Linked DNA regions of Homo sapiens: region 1 is linked to region 2. Evidence: promoter capture Hi-C in human tissues and cell types (Jung and others, 2019). All regions are on one chromosome and are shown on one strand. The core of a region is centred on a gene start or on the middle of the fragment in contact, and the rest is flanking DNA. Distances in the headings are between cores, read along the strand shown. Region 1 overlaps ARHGAP35 (Rho GTPase activating protein 35). Region 2 holds the start of NPAS1 (neuronal PAS domain protein 1).

What was found. The method cuts DNA at HindIII sites, captures the fragments that hold promoters and counts their contacts. A contact is called where the count stands out against the background at its distance.
Region 1: a contact is called between a fragment that was not itself captured here and the fragment with the promoter of NPAS1 in region 2, in 2 of the 25 tissues and cell types used here (IMR-90 fibroblasts and dorsolateral prefrontal cortex).

The regions. Positions count from the first base shown.
Region 1 is chr19:46,932,773-46,937,129 of GRCh38, reverse strand. All of the region lies in intron 2 of ARHGAP35 (Rho GTPase activating protein 35), which reads right to left. Among named protein-coding and RNA genes, the nearest start is that of ARHGAP35, 74 kb to the right of the region's middle. The HindIII fragment of the contact is 9,795 bases long and covers 1-4,357 here.
Region 2 is chr19:47,017,745-47,022,128 of GRCh38, reverse strand. NPAS1 (neuronal PAS domain protein 1) reads right to left here and starts at 2,292. Exons shown (of 12, transcript NM_002517.4): 1 at 2,132-2,292; 2 at 960-1,123; 3 at 282-517. The coding sequence starts at 1,081. RefSeq lists a silencer at 2,296-2,355. The HindIII fragment of the contact is 24,576 bases long and covers 1,276-4,384 here.

The DNA.
Region 1 (4,357 bases), core at 804-3,303, 85 kb after region 2:
GGTGACTCATGCCTGTATTCCCAGCACTTTGGGAGGCCGAGGCGGGTGGATCACCTCAGGTCAGGAGTTTGAGACCAGCTTGGCCAACATGGTGAAACCGTGTCTCTACTAAAAACACAAAAATTAGCCAGGCGTAGTGGTGGGCGCCTGTAATCCCAGCTACTTGGGAGGCTGAGGCAGGAGAATTGCTTGAACCCAGGAGGTGGAGATTGAGGTGAGCCGAGATTGCGCCACTGTATTCCAGCCTGGATGACAGAGTAAGACTCAAAAAAAAAAAAAAAAAAGATTTCAAGAAGGATTAAAAAGATTCGCTTGGCTCATCTCACTACTTTTAATTTTCTATCTTCTGGCCTCTGAATACCACACAGGATGCCAGAAAGTCACACCTTGAGTATGAGACCACATTATTAGAACAAAGATGTTTATAAGAAGCAGTCCATGTTTATGTAATAAAATAACAATACGATGATTATCTACATCCTCTACCAGGGATGCACTGGAGTAAACAGGAAGTTTTCCAAACACCCTACAAGGATAATAGATGTTACATACTCAAAGATAGCTAAAATCTTTAAAAAAAATGAAATGGAAAACAGATTATTTCCTCTTTCTAGAAAAGAGAGCAGGCATTCTGCTAGGGCTGATAGACCCAAATGAGAATGTCCTTTGATACATTAGCTTGGGGTTAATTCTCAGTTGCATCCACATTAGGAAAAGGTAAAGTCGACTAATCAAACAAGACAAATAAAGTATTTTTTTTGTCTATTTTTCCCTAGTCACCTTCTTCAAGAAGTACTAGCAGCAGCAGTAGCAGCAGCAACAGCAACCACTTGAGAACTTACTATGCACAGACTAAGTTCCAAATATTATTATTATTATTATAATTTTCAGACAGGGTCTCCCTGTGTTGCTCAGGCTGGAGTACAGTGGCACAACCACAGCTCACTGCAGCCTGGACCTCCTGGGCTCAAGTGATCTTCCTACCTCAGCATCCCAAAGCTGGGACCACAGGCATGTACCCAGGCTAATTTTTAAATTTTCTGTAGAGATGAGGGTCTCACTATGTTGCCCAGCCTGCCAAATATTATTTCTTTTAAACCTGATGACACTCAATCTTACCAAGGAAAAAATCTCTCACATGCCTAAATGACACAACTACTAAGTGACTGCTTGGATTCAAATCCAGGAAGGTTTGTCTCCAAAGCCTATGCTCATTAACATGATTAATACTGAGATACTCTGCCTCAAAAGTATTCAATCTTTTTATTTTGAACCTTAAATGGAGAAAAAATTACTCTAAACAAATGATAAATTTCCTAAAGCCAAAGAAATACACTTGAAATTTTGGCCTTTTGTTAAAATATCTACTAAAAAAGAAAAGTAACCAAATAGGATCAAGGTAAATTAGACCCAGGTGTATCTCCAGCAATCCAGTTACATTTTCCAGTTGATGAAACCAATTTAGAAAAGCAGATTTACTCAGAAATGTGCACAGCCCATAAACCTAAAGTATTTAGGGATTTTACATAAAATCCACTGAAGGAAACAACGAACCGCCAGGCCGCAGGCCACCTATTCCCTCTCCTTCTCCTGCCCATCTTCGTTCCTACCAGTACCCCTTTGTATAAGAAAAAAATCACTTCCTGTTTAGTCTGAGATTCGTTGAGAACTTCCTGTGCAAACAAATAGCAAGAAAAAAAAAGAACAGATCAGAATATAATGTACACAAGGAAAGAGCAAGATCATTCCATTTCTGGGCTGCTGGGTGAGATTACTTCAAATGACAAACCAAAGGCAATGAGAATCCAATCTTCATTCAGCCTGCTACCTGACTCAATATGGAGAATGCTATAATGTGAATGGATTCTGGGGTCTCAGGGAAGAACCATGTACTCCATAAAGCCTGTCCCCACTCACTGTGAGATACCTGCTCCTCATAAAGTAGTGGCATAGCCTCCTAGGTTCGGGGGAATGGCTGCTGCTTGCTCCCCTTATAGACTGAAGCAAACAGGCTCTGACTTCAGACTTTTTTTACCAAAGAAGTAAGGAAATGCCAATTAACGATGTATGATATACATTTACAGGAAATAATTTAACGAGTCTATACTGTGTCTCTAGCATCTTCTACTTATATGAAGTATAACATAAAGAATTTAAGGCTGGGCATGGTGGCTAATGCCTGTAATCCTAGCACTATGGGAGGCTGAGGTGGGCAAATTGCTTGAGCTCAGGAGTTCAAGACCAGCCTGGGCAACATGGTGAAACCCCATCTCTACAAAAAATACAAAAACAATTAGCTGGGCGTGGTAGCGCACACCTATAGTCCCAGATACCTGGGAAGCTGAGGTGGGAGGATCGCCTGAGCCCAGGAGGTCGAGGCTGTAGTGAGCTGAGATCGTGCCACTGCACTCCAGCCTGGGTGACAAAGTGCGACCCCGTCTCAAAATAATAAATAAGAGGGCTGGCCGGGTATGGTGGCTCACACCTGTAATCCTAGCACTTTGGGAGGGCAAGGCGGGCGGATCACCTGAGATCAGGAGTTCGAGACCAGCCTGGCCAACATAGTGAAACCCTGTCTCTACAAAAATACAAAAATTAGCCGGGCATGATGGCAAGTGCCTGTAATCCCAGCTACTCAGGAGGCTGAGGTGGGAGAATCACTTGAACCCAGGAGGTAGAGGTTGCAGTGAGCCGAGATTGTGCCATTGCACTCCAGCCTGGGCGACAGAGCAAGACTGTGTCTCCGGGAGGAGGGGCGGGGTGGGGAAGAGGGGCTGAGTGCCTCTGTTTCACACATTGTTGCAACCAGATAACAATGATTCAAACAATGCTCTCCCCACTTAAAATGTTTCCTATTTTTTTTTAATTTAAAGTTTAAAAGGTTAAAAGTCGAAAAGTTTTACATTTGGAGTTTAAAAGGTTAGCTATACAATCTGAATAACCAAAGAGCATCTGTACTTAAATCACATTCATCCATCTTCTATCATTGAAGTTTTTAACAATCTCAAATCCTACAGAATATGCCTGTTGAAACTAACAGCACTGTTCAATAAAACAGGCTTCCAAATAAACCGCTGTGAAGGAACAGAAATGGAAGCTGCAAAGAAGCTATTCCTAATCACCTTAAAGCCTCCTTCTAACCATGGTTCTAGGAAACAGACAACAAATTTCAATCTTACATTCCCCCACCCTCTTAATACTAGGAACAAGATGATGCTGGTGTGTTCTAACAATCTAACTTAGCCAGGAAATTTAGCCTTCATCAACTGAGTAGTTTCTGTGTACCAGAACCTAGCATAAGTTCTTTTTTAGATAGGGTCTCGCTCTGTCATCCAGACTGCGGTGCAGTGGCGCAGTCATAGCTCCCTACAACCACAGCTTCCTGGGCTCAAGGGACCCTCCTGCCTCGGACTCCCAAAGTGCTGGGATTACAGGCATGAGCCACCGCACCCAGCCAGTATAAATTCTTTACAAGCACTCCAGATTCAAAATATTTGTGGGTGTGGGTATTAAAAACTCCATTTGATAGAGGCCAACTCCTAGAAAAAGTAACTTGACAAAGTCAGGTCTGTATGACTGCGAAACCTGTGCTTTTAACCACCACGGCTTATAATCTAGTGAAAATTCTTGAGATGGAGAGAATAAATAAATGGATGACTGAGTAAGTGAATAAAAGCACACTAGCTGGGCTTGGTGGCTCATGCCTGTAATTCCAGCACTTTGGGAGGCTGAGGTTGGCAGATCACTTGAGGCCAGAGTTTGAGACCAGCCTGGCCAACGTGGTGAAACCCCATCTCTACAAAAAATATTACAAAAAAATTATCTGGGTGTGGTGATGCATGCCTGTAGTCCCAGCAACTCGAGAGGCTGCAGTGGGAGGATTGCTTGAGCTGGGGAGGTGAAGGCTGCAGTGAGTCAAAATTGTGCCACTGCACTCCAGCCTGGGTGATAGCAGGAGACCCTGTCTCGGAAAAAAAAAAAAAAAAAAAAAAGAAGGCACACTGATCACTGATTATCTGGAGGACTTCCAAAGGTTTCTAAAGGTAATAAAGATCCACTCATATAAAATACCAGGGAACTTTAAATTGGCAAAGAGAATAATGGGGCACTCTGATAGCTATTTTCAAATAGCTATAGAGCTACCTATTGACTATAGAGCAGGCTTCTTTTACATGGCTCCAAAGGGTCACATTGGGAGCGATAAGAGAGACGGAAGGCTAACTGAGACAACTGCTCCTATCTCTTTCACCTCAAAGAGCCCCAGATTTAGTTCAATCCTTCCATTTACAACAGTGGATGTGGAGGGTAAGCTTTTGCAGTAGCATCACCCCACCTCCTTGCTGAGTGACGTGGATTC
Region 2 (4,384 bases), core at 1,043-3,542:
CTCTAATAAAAATATAGGAATAGCATTTACCAGTGACCACTAGAACTGCCAGGGCCTTGTTTAGGGCAGAATTCACGAAATCTTCCCAACCTCTTGCGCCCATTTGACAGTTTAATAAACTGAGGCTTGGAGAGCAGAAGCCACCTGATAGGGACACGCAAAGGTCCTGGCTGACTCCAGAGACAAGCATCTGGGCGAGGGCAGGCCCGCAGCCCGGATCTGGGCTGCAGTGACTCCGCCTGGAGGGCCCCGGGACCCTCGCCCCGCGCATGAGCACTCACCGAGGCCAGCTGGCGGCCCCGCGGCTCTCAGCCCCCAGGGCGGCGCCCCCAGCGCGGCGAACCGGCGCAGGCGGAGGTAGGTGACGCTGAGGCGCACGATGGAAGCCTTGTCCAGCTGGCTGGAGATGGCGCCGGGCAGCGGGAGAAGCTTGGCCAGCTCGAAGAACTCCAGGTTCTCCTTCCCGCGCCGCGAGCGCGCCGCGTTCCGGGACTTCTCCTTGCGCTGCGCCTGCAGGCTGGGCGGGCGGCGCGGAGGAGGTGTCGGCGGGGCCCCGGGGCTCAGGGGCTTGGGAACTGGGGGCGAGCCCCGCCTCCCGGGGCCTTGGGAACGGGACGGGACGTTGGGAGTGGATTCCACATCTCTGGAGGTGGGAGCAGACCGGAGTGTGGATTTTACACTCCGACCCAGGGACAGAACCTCGAGTGTCAATTCTGGTGGGAAGGAGGAGGAAGGGCGAGAGATTAAAGATGTTGGGCGTGAATTCTGAGGACCGGGACTAGAAGCAGAACGCAGGGGACCGGGCTCAGGACGGTAGTTAACTCAAGGTAAGACCTTCTAGCCCTAAGGGGCGGGTCAGGGAGCTGGGTGTGAACTGCCCCTTGGCACGGGGACAGAACATCGGGTGTGAATTGGACCCGGGGGGGGGCCCGCGGCCAGGGGGGCGGGGCTTTGCTCACCACGGTCCGGACGGCGCCTTGACCATCAGCCCGGGTAGAAAGTCCCAGGGGACGCTGGCGCCGCGGCCTCCCACGCATTTGACCTCGCTTCCGCCGCCACTGCCGGGATAGGGGGCCGCCATCTCCGGGGGGCTCGCTCAGGCGGGCTCCGAGCCCCGAGTCTCCTGCAGCGGGAGGGGGCCAGGGGCAACGCTTAGTGCCCTCGGGAGACCTTCTAGGGAAACTGAGATCCGTGCAGGGCTCAGGGTCCCAGCAAGGAGCTGGGGGGGGGGGGGCCTGGATGATGCCTCAGTTTCCCCTACCTGGAGGCCTCAGCTCCCACCCTAGCCGGCCCGGGGCTGGCGCTCCGGGTGAGGACGTGCCCCGCCGCCGCCTCCCCCGCGCCGCCCGCCAGCGCGCCCGCCTCACGCCCGCGCCGGGCCGGCTCCCGCATACCAATGGGCGCACGCGGCGCGCATACGGATCGAACCGGCCCGCGCGCTGCGTGCCAAGCATGCCCAAGCCGGGCGGGGGGCGGGCGCCTCCCGGGCCAGGCACGCACGCCCCAGCCCCCGGAGCCCTCTGCCCCGAGGACCCGCCCCCCAAGCCCATCCCCGGTGTCTGACTCCCCGGATCTGCACCCTGTTTTCCCGGCTGGGCTAAGGAGGCAGGGGGCAGAGGGCAGGGACCCCCATCCTGTGTCCTGCCCAGGGATCCCCCCAGCCTCTCGGGATGGCGCCACGTGTTCGGACCGCCACATCCCCACGACCACAACTTCCTCCCTGAAGACCCCGGCGCGCGAGCCCCAGCCCCGGACGCAGCCGCCGCAGCCTCTGCCCCAGGACGCCCCCAGGATTGACCCGACACTCGGGGCCCAGGTGTCCTGGTCTCCTGATCCCCTAACGTTTTCAGTTAGGTCTTCATTCCTCCAGGACCAGGCGTTCAGAACACCCCCTAACCCCAGGAACCAGGCCGCCCCCAAACCTCCCAGCCAGGTGTCCAGATGCCCCAGACCCCCGTGTCCAGGTCTCCCAACCCCAGATTTCTCCAGGACTCAAACATCCGTGCGCCCCTTCCCCCAGGCTCGGGATACCCTCGTCCCACCCCCTATCCCCCAGGACACTGGAGTTCCAGCCCCCCATTCCTCTGGGACCCAGAAGTCCCCCTCCTGCCAGCCCGCAAGCTTCCCCTACCCGCAGGACCGCCAGTCCGATTACTTGGCCGCAGAGCAGGCTCCGGGCGCGGCGTGGGGCCGGCCGGGCGGCGCGGAGGGGCAGCTCCATAGACCCCGGGGCGCGCGGGGCGCAGCGGGACGCGCGGGCTGTGGCGCCCAGCTCTCGGCGCCCACCTCGGCCTCGCAGACTTGGAGACGCGCGACCAGCGCTGCGGGCGGGGGCGGGGTCTGCCGGAGCCCCGCCCGCCGCGTCTCCGCCCCCGGACCCGCCCTGCTCGCCTTTCCCTGGTAGGGGGCCAAGCTACCCTGGGGTCCGAGTTCCCTTGCCCCACGGTAACGTCGGGGGTCAGAATGTAGCACCTCGGATCGGAGCTACCCCACTCCAAAAGGGGAACAGCGGAGTCCGGGCACTGTCTACACCCCTTCAGGAGGCAGTTAGTGCCCCAGCAGCCCCTCGGGACAAGACAGGTACCCTGCAGCCGAGCCCCATGTACGAGTGAAGACTCACGTCAGTGCTTCCTCCAGGGACACAAATCCAGAATTCGAGACCCTCCCTTTCCGGGAGAGAACTCCTGAGTGTCAGCACACTCTCCCCCCACAGGGCTGGGACTTCGCATCCAAACCCAACCCGCCTTAAAAGGGGGACATACACCTCCCTCGTCAGGGACCAGGATCCAGCTCTCTAAGGAGCTCCAGAGACCAGGATCCTGGCGTCTTATCTCCATCCCCCGCCGCAGGGACGGGAACCCTTACATCCAAGCTCCCCATTAGATCATAAATGGGAACTCAGGGGTTGTAGTACCTCGCACAGAGGACGGGAACCCAGGCGTCCAAGCCAGGCCTTCCCCAGTCTGATAGGAGGTCCTACAGTTCCCCTAGCTCCTTCTCTCCATGCAGCCCCCACTTCCCGTTCTCAGGGTCCTCCCTGGCATGGGGGTCTCCAGGCACTTAAAAGCCTCTACATGACCTTAACATGGGGAAAGAAAATGGAGCTGGGGCCGGGCGCGGTGGCTTACACCTATAATCCCAGCACCTTGGGAGGCCAGGGCGGTTGGATCACCCGAGGTCAGGAGTTCAAGGCCAGCCTGGCCAACATAGTGAAACCCTGTCTCTACTAAAAATACAAAAATTAGCCGGGTGTGGTGGTGGGCGCCTGTAATCCCAGCTACTCGGGAGGCTGAGGCAGGAAAATCCCTTGAACCTGGGAGGCGGAGGTTGCAGTGAGCCGAGATCCCGCCACTGCGCTCCAGCCCGGGTCAGAGAAGGAGAGTCCATTTCGAAAGAAAAGAAAAGAAAAAGAAAATGGAGCAGGGAGTCTTAGAAGAGGCATACAGTCAGGGGCTTGCAGGGAGCACGCGCTGGCCTTTGGTTGGGCAGATGGGGAAACTGAGGCACACACAAACACCCGTGTGCATTTGCTCACAACACACAAACTCATTCATGATCCTCATAGTTAACACTTAAGGGAGTGCTTGTTTTTTGCTAATACTTTATTTTATAGCAAGATTCTGAGATGGGCTCTGTTACTAGATGCATTTTACAACTAGGGAAACCGAGACATGGGGAAGTGATATAGCCTGGTGATAGTGGCCTCTCAGACAACAGATCCTTATTTATCCCCAGAGAGACTTGCTAGAGTTTCAGGGCAAGGAATCAAGCTCAGATCATGGGCTCCTGTCTCCTGACAGCACTTCCTGGCTGTGCAGCCTGGGCAGGTGCTATGCCAGCCATGAGAGGTACACTTGTGCCATTAATTAATTAATTAATTATTTTTGAGACACAGTCTTCTCGCTCTGTCACCCAGGCTGCATGATCACTACTCACTGCAGCCTTGAACTCCCAGGCTCAAGAGATTCTCCCACCTAGCCTCCTAAGTGGCTGGGACTACAGGTATGCACCACCCCACCCAGCTATTTTTTAAAAATGTTTTGTTGGCCGGGCGCAGTGGCTCATGCCTGTAATCCCAGCACTTTGGGAGGCTGAGGCGGGTGGATCACCTGACGTCAGGAGTTCAAGACCAGCCTGGCCAACATGGTGAAACCCCATCTCTACTAAAAATACAAAAATTAGCTGGACACAGTGGCGTGCACCTGTAGTCCCAGCTACTCAGGAGGCTGAGGCTGGAGAATCGCTTGAACCTGGGAGGCGGAGGTTGCAGTGAGCTGAGATCACGCCACTATACTCCAGCCTGGCAGACAGAGCGAGACTCCGTCTCAAAAAAAAAAAAAAAGTTTTGTAGAGAGAGGGTCTTGCTATGTTGCCCAGGCTGGTC